2 separate regions of the Homo sapiens genome follow, and region 1 is linked to region 2. The links are contacts of gene promoters, found by promoter capture Hi-C in blood cells and fetal thymus (Javierre and others, 2016). All regions are on one chromosome and are shown on one strand. The core of a region is centred on a gene start or on the middle of the fragment in contact, and the rest is flanking DNA. Distances in the headings are between cores, read along the strand shown.

Region 1 (3,519 bases), core at 949-3,448, 520 kb after region 2:
TCCCGTAACCTCACATGCATGGCGCTGCTCTACTTCACCTCAGAAAAAGGACACACATTTACGTTCCATTTTTTACTTCAAATAATTGTTTAGATTGTGGTAAAATACATATAACACAACATTGGCCATTTGAACCAATTGGGTGGCACTAAGCACATCCACAGATTGTGCCACCATCTCCACCATCCGTCTCCAGGACTTTTCAACCGTCTCCACCATCTGGCTCCAGGACTCTTCAGCTTCCCACCACAAACTATCCCCATGAAGCACTCATTCCCCATCCCCATTCTCCTCCCCTTGCCCCTGGCGCCTACCATTCTATTTCTGTCTCCGTGGATTTGACTCCTCTAGGGTACCTCATGTAAGTGGAACCATGCAGTATTTGTATTTGTCTTTCTGTGACTGGTTTATTTCACTGAGCATAATGACCTCAGAGTTCATCCCTGTTGTAACATGTGTCACAATTCCTTCTTTCTTTTTTTTTTTTTTTTTTTTTTTTTTGGCAAGGTCTCACTCTGTCACTCAAGCTGGAGTGCAATGGTAGGATCATGGCTCACTGCAGCTTCAAACTCCTGGGCTCAAGAGCTCCTCCTGCCTCAGTCTTCCCAGTAGCTGGGACTATAGGCATGCACCACCATGCGTGGCTAGCATTTTATTTTTGTTGAGAGAGGGTCTCGCTAGGTTGCAATTCTCCCATCTTAGCCTCCAAAGTGCTGGGATAACAGGTGTGAGCCACTGCACCCGACCCAGAATTTCCTCCTTTTGACGGCTGAGTGATGTTCCATTGTCCGCACACACACATTTTGTTTATCCTTTCATCCATTGATGGACACTTGTGTTGCCTCCACCTACTCGTAGCACCCTGGCTGTTATGAGTAGTGAGTGCACTATCTCTTGTGTGCAGTTGTCTCATGGAGACCTTGCTTTCCTGCCTGTGGCGTTAGTGCAGGTGGCAGGCAGGTCGGTGGGCAAGCAGGTGTGCCCTGTGGATGACGAGAAGCTTTTTCTGCTTAAAGCCCTGCATGGATCAAAAGTTGGAAAATATATTTGATTTTTACAATTTGTTCAAAATTAATCAAGCAAACACTGATTTTCATGTATTTTCTGAGATCTCTGCTATAAAACAGAAAACCACCACCCTCTTTCCAGGGAAGCATCTTCTTCCTGGCTCCCTCCTTCCCTTCGGGCCATGGCGGCATCCTCGGATCCTCCCTAGCCCATTCATATCACACGGCTTTTCCTCCTCTGCATCTCGATACCACTGGCTCCTTTGGGAGGTTCCTCTGAGCCACCCATGCGCGGGGTGGGTTGTCATGAAAAGTCACCAGTTCCACCTCCAGCCAGAAGTCCCACAAAAGCGAAGGGCACTGAAGACAAAACCACCCTTCCCTTCTCTAAAGGAGGAGGGGCGGTGCTTCAGAGGGTGTCCCCCAAACCCGTTCTTTAGAGCAGGGTCCCCAACCCCTGGGCTGCGGAGTGGTACAGGTCTGTGGCCTGTTAGGAACGGGCCTCAGAGCAGGAGGTGTGCGGTGGGCGAGTTTACCGCCGAGCTCCGCCCCCTGTCGGATCAGCTGGGCATTCCATGCTCATGGGAGGCAAACTCTATCGTGAACTGCGCATGTGAGGGATCCAGGTGGTGCGCTCCTTCCGGGAATCTAATGTCTGATGATCAGAGGTGGAACAATTTCACCCCGAAACTATCCCCCACCCAACCCCATCGGTGGAAAAATTGTCTTCCACGAAACCGGTCCCTGGTGCCAAGAAGGTTGGGGACTGCTACTTTAGAGCATGTCCTCGGAGTGGAGGTACCTGCTCTCCACGCAGTACAGCATCTGGCTGTGTGGTGGCTGCAGTCCAGTGGGTCTGAGAGGGGTGGAGGGGGAAGGTGGAGAAGGAGAGGAGGGAGGAGGGGAGGGAGGGAAAGGTGAGAGGGGAAGACGAAGGGAAGGAGAAGAGGTGGGGGAGGGGGCAGGGGGGCAGCATTGGCCAGGTAAGGGCGTGTCCACTGTGAGGCACCGTGGGATTCCTGGGCGAGGACTGTGAGACACTGGTGAGCGTGTGTGCAGGGCTCTTTCGGGCTTCCTCTGTTTTTAATGACATCAGAGTGCGTGCCATGCATGGGGCTGTCCTGGTGTTGGCACTGACCGCTTGGAGCCCAGCTGCTGCCCCCTTTCTCAGGCCACAGATGCGCCCAAGAGCAGGGTTTGTCCAGGCCCGCCTGGGCCCGCTCCACGCCATCCTGCAGTGCCCACGCAGCAGCGGTGCCAGGTCTTCCTTCAGCACCCATGCGTGGTTACCTGTGGCCGATGTGGCAGGCGTGTAGGGTGTGACTGCAGAACTGCATGGACCAAGCACCGTCTGCCTCCTAAGGGAGCAATGGGACCGAGGAAGTGGGCCCCATGTTGGCCTTGACCAGCTGTGCCCACCTCCTTTTGGGAACAGATGTGCCAAGAACAACCAGGCTAAGGAAACGTGGCTCGCACACCGGGAGCCCTGGGGAAAGACTACAACGATCCTTTTAATAATACTTTTTACTGACTGTAGTCATAGTGTAATAATTTCAGAAAATTCAGAAACCATAGAAAAGTATACAGAAGAAAATTAAAATTACCTGGTGCCCCCACCAAGCCACAGTGATCATTGTTCAAGCATTAACAAATTTTCCTGGATTTTGGTAAACAGATATAAGTGCATATTTTAAGTGGAAATATTCTATATTTAGTTTTGATCCTTGTTTTCATCCCTTTAAAAGGATTTTTCATATTATTCAATCATCTCCTAAAATACAGTTACCAGTAACTGCCTTCATTCCATTAGATGCTGAAATGGATTTAACTGTTCTCTGGTGGTTAGTCATATATTCTTGTTTCTTTCTTCTTTCCTGGTATACATAATATTGGGAACATCTTGGAACAAGATGGCTGTACTCAATTATTGAAATTCCTAAACGATAAATGACTGGAGGAGAATCCTGGATCAAGGAGGGGCTCCTGGAAGTGCTCTGGGCCCTGCTGGAGGCACAGGCCTTGGCCACAGGCCACCACACATACCCTTTGGAAAGAGACTTTGCCATTGTGATCGGCCAAAAATGAAACCTCACTTTATTTTATTGTGAGACAGTGTCTCATTATGTCACCCAGGCTGGACTGCAGGCTCACTGCAGCCTCGACCTCCTGGGCTCAAGAGATCCTCCCACCTCAGCCTCCCTAGTAGCTGGGACCACAGGTGGGCGCCACCATGCCAGGCTAATTTTGTATTTTTTGTAGAGATGGCATTTAGCCATGTTGGCCAGGCTGGTCTCAAACTCCTAGGCTCAAGGGATTCGCTCATCTTGGCCTCCCAAAGTGCTGGGATTACAGGTGTGAGCCACCACGCCCAGCCTTTTTCACTTAATTTTGAAGCTTGGAGATAAGTTTTATATAGGCCCATATACGGCTGCCTGAAACCTCACTTTAAAACTAGGTATATTTGTTTGCTGCCTGCTGAGGCTGAGTGCTCATTGCCTGTTGCTTGGCTATT
Region 2 (4,075 bases), core at 624-3,123:
TGGCAGGCTATGTGAAAAGGCTGGCAAGGAAAAAGGAGTCGGGGACGTCAGTCACCTCTATCACCCAGGCAGGAGATGCTGGGCCTGGAACCAGAGGCACCCCAAAGAAGCCAGGCATAATATGGCCTCACCTGAGCCCGGTGACCTCATCTGCAAAACTGGGACTCAAGAATCAGAAAACGGTGACCTTCTACCTCTCTACACGTACATATATGTTTTCTAAAGAAGTTAATCACAAGAATCCACAAACCCATTGGTTCTGACCTCCAAGAGCCTATATGATACCCTCCTCCACAGGTAGCCCTTTTCCTGGCTTCTGTTCTTACCAAGGCCACCCCACAACTAGTCATCCCGCTGCCCAGAGAGCAGCCAAAAGCAGTGAGCAACTAGCTCTACATGGGGAGACCAGAGAAGCATCACTGAATCTGTCCAGGTTGAGCACCGGTCAGGGCCTTGGCCACCAGGCAGGCACTAGGGAGGAGGCAGACATTCCACATAGATGACACAAGCGCAGAGCCAAGAGGTGCGGTGTATCTGGGCTGGGAGCCTGGCTAGGGCACAGGAGAGGGCCACACACCCCGTGCTCCCACACCCAGGTCATCAGAGAAGATGGCCCTGGCACTTCTGCCTTCATGGGACCTTTCCTCCATTAAGAAATATTAAGAGTCATGCTTTTTCACTGTATTAGTATAAAGATGACTGTATTAATATACATACGAAAACATTTTATTTGACCTAAAAGTTCATTTTTTTTCTGCTGACTTTAAAAAAAAATAAAATAACATTCGAAGGCTACTAAAAGTACCGTGGGCAAGTGATACCAGGATTCCTGTGCCTGATGGATACATCGGCCCTGCATTTAGGGAGTTTGATTTTTTGGTGCAGTTCAAGGGGAGGTACACCGAAATAGGTAGAAAAGGGTCTCCTGGTTGCCACGGTTCTGATTCCCCACCACAGACTTAAGAACACACTAGCTCCGAGGGGAGTTCCAAAGCACGGACTCATTCATCACATACACGCAGCACGGCTAAGGGCCCCGCACAGTGGCGAGGTCTCTGCTCCCGGGACGCTCGCGCCGGCCACACAACGCTAGGCTGACTCCTGGTGCCTCCTCTAGGCCCGGTGGGACCTGAGGACTTCCTTAGCGCAACGTCTCACTGAATGACAGCCACAACCACCGCTGTCCAGGCGAGGAGTTTCCAGGACTGAGAGGCTGGCACTAGGCCACTGCTGGGAGGACGTCTGTGAAACCAGGTGCCCCTGAGAGCCACTGTCCCCAGCCCGACTCCGACGCTGGACTGGCGAGAGGGTGCGCCCGTGGCGTAGCTCCTGGCCGCCGCCGCTCCCGGGAAGGGCCCAGAGGCAACATCCTGGACAGCAGAGCTGCACGAAGTCCGAGGCGCCGCGAGCCCAGGTAAGCTCCAGCAGGCGTCCGCAGAGAGTGCCAGGCGGCCCGCGAGCCAGGCCCCGCCCGCCCCTGCCCCAGGCGCGGCCCCTGCAGGAGGGCGCCGCGGGTGAAAGGAGGTCCCGGGGCGACCCCGGCCCCGCTCGCCGCCCAGCCCCCACACCGCCCCCATCGCGCGGCGCACCTGGCCGCAGCGGCTCGGTGACAGTGAGCACGAGCAGGAAGAGCAGCAGGAAGGCGCCGCTGTCTGCCTTGGGCACCATTTATCCTCCGTTCATCGTCCCCGGGGCGGCTGGAAGGCCGGACCAGGCCGGACTGAGGGTCAGGGGACCGTGCCAAGCGGAGGGTCAGGCGGAGCTGAACCTGGGCGAGGCGCGGAGAGGCGGCGGGAAAGAGCTTCGGCTGGGCCGCGGGCTGGCGCACACTCTCGGCTGCAACCTCAGGCACCGACTCCAGCTGCGCGCAAGATGGCGGCCGTCCTGCTCGGCTCCGCGCCGCGCCGCCCCGCCCCGCCTCCCGCCCGCGACGCAGGCGCGGGCCAATGACCGTCAAGATGGGGGGCGGGGCCAGAGCCAAAGCCCTCCGAAGAGGGTGAGGCCTAAGGTCGCGACGGCGGAGGGCGGGGACCTAAGGGCGGGGACTGAGGGGCGGGCTCTAAGGGAAGGGCGGGACCATACGGAGTGAGGCGTGCCATTGGTTAAGCAGAGAGGCAGGGCCGGGGCCGGGGCCTGAGCGGCGGGGCCACCGAAGGGAGTAGGGTCTCTGGACGCCGGTTAGGGACGGCGGGCGCGGGACGGCAAGGATGGACATCGAAAGGCGCGGGGCATGGGGCGGGGCGCCGAGGGGTCGCGCGGGTGGGGAGCGGAGAGAACGAAGTGGGAACCTGGCTGGGACTCCAAGGGTCTTCACACCTGCAAGCTCAGGTCCCGTGAGCAGCCCAAAAGTGCGCCCCAAAGGGGTCTTTTTAAGGCCGAACCGCTGTGGAGGAGGGAGGGCCTGCCGGTTCTGAGGGTGGGGAAAGAGGAACAGGAATGGCCTAAGAGAGTGTCAGGCAAAGAGAGACCGGGAAGGCCAGGTCCTGGAGACTGCAGCGAAGCCGGCTCCCTGGAGGACCTGCCTACACAATGGCTAGGGGAAGGCCACATGTGCAGGAAAGAAAGCTAGGCAGAGAGGAGGCTCAGCGCCCCTGCGAACAGTGCTCCAAGTGCCACTTCTCCCGTCATCACCAACAGGGTGAACCTTGGAGGGCAGTGTCGGCGAAGAGTCCAACTCTGTAAAATATTTGAAGACATTTCTTCTGAGCCAATATGTGACCAATAGCCTGGGACACAGCCCCAGGAGATCCTGACAAGTGCCCAAGGGGGTAGGGCCACAGCTTGGTTTTATACATTTTAGGGAGACAAGACATCAATCAGCACATGTAAGATATACATTGGTTCAGTCGGAAAAGGCGGGACAACTTGAAAGTGGGGGGTGGAGGGGGGCTTCTAGGTCATGCGGATTGGCAGTTGGTTCAAAGAGTTTATCTAAAGACCTGGAATCAATAAAAGGGACTGTCTACATTAAGGGGTTGTGGAGACCAAGTTTCTTAGGCAAATGAAGCCTCCAGGTATCAGGCTTCACAGAGAAAAGACTGTTAATGTTTCTTATTAAAAAGTGCCAGACTCTGCCGGGTGTGGTGGCTCACGCCTGTCATCCCAGCACTTTGGGAGGCCAAGGCGGGCGGATCACCTGAGGTCAGGAGTTCAAGATCAGCCTGGCCAACATGGTGAAACCACATCTCTACTAAAAATACAAAAGTTACCCAGGCGTGGTGGCACACGCCTGTAATCCCAGCTACTCAGGAGGCTGATGGCAGGAGAATCGCTTGAACCGGGGAGGCAGAGGTTGCAGTGAGCCAAGATCATGCCACTGCACTCCAGCCTGGGCAACAGAGTAAGACTCTGTCTCAAAAAAAAAAAAAAAAAAAAGGAAAAAAAAAAGGAAAAATAAATAAAAGGTGCCAGACTCTAGTTAATTCTCTCAGGAGAAAAGACCTTGAAAGGGATAGGGATTCTCTACAGAATGTAGATTTTCCCCACAAAAAACAGCTTTGCAGAGCGACTTCAAAATATGTGAAAGAAACCTGTTTTGCAGTAAAATATGTGTTTCCTTCCGGGCCTGCTGTCATGCTGGTATCTTACTGCCACAGAGTCTGTTGTCAGTCTTCAAGTCTCTGTGTCGATGTTACACTGCTTAGCTGTGCCTGAAACCTGAAGGGAGGAGGGATAATGAGGCCTGACTCCCACTTCCTATCACGGCCTGAAATAGTTTTTCAGGTTAAGTTTGGAATGCCCTTGGTGGAGAGGAGGGGTCCATTCAGATGGCTGGGGGGTTAGAGTTTTATTTTTGGTTTCCAGGAGACAGTAGTTGGGGTGTCCCCAGCGGGAAGGAGAAGGAGGCTGTCTGGAAGGAGGAGAACCAAGAATGCACAAAGGCCTGGCAGTGGGCAGTCAGCGTTAGGGAAGAAGGTGAAGGAGCAGAGAAAAGGGGGAAGGGCCACGGCAGGTGGGGACCCAACCCAACATGAGTGACAACCAGCCCGCCCTACCAAGTCATCCTGAGGGGCCCAGGGTTCCACTTGGCTCCTGTGAGAAAGGGGTGCTCACTCCCTCTAGGTGGATGAGGCCA

The links. The method cuts DNA at HindIII sites, captures the fragments that hold promoters and counts their contacts. A CHiCAGO score of 5 or more calls a contact.
Region 1: a fragment that was not itself captured here is called in contact with the fragment with the promoter of DGCR2 in region 2 in 1 of 17 cell types (activated CD4 T cells); the score reaches 5.0 in activated CD4 T cells.

What each region holds. Positions count from the first base shown.
Region 1 is chr22:19,640,009-19,643,527 of GRCh38, forward strand. No RefSeq gene overlaps it. Among named protein-coding and RNA genes, the nearest start is that of SEPTIN5, 73 kb to the right of the region's middle. The HindIII fragment of the contact is 2,401 bases long and covers 999-3,399 here.
Region 2 is chr22:19,120,539-19,124,613 of GRCh38, forward strand. It overlaps DGCR2 (DiGeorge syndrome critical region gene 2), which reads right to left and starts at 1,874. Exons shown (of 10, transcript NM_005137.3): 1 at 1,590-1,874. The coding sequence starts at 1,668. RefSeq lists an enhancer at 1,233-1,734 and silencers at 1,519-1,638, 1,759-2,198. The HindIII fragment of the contact is 21,190 bases long and covers 1-4,075 here.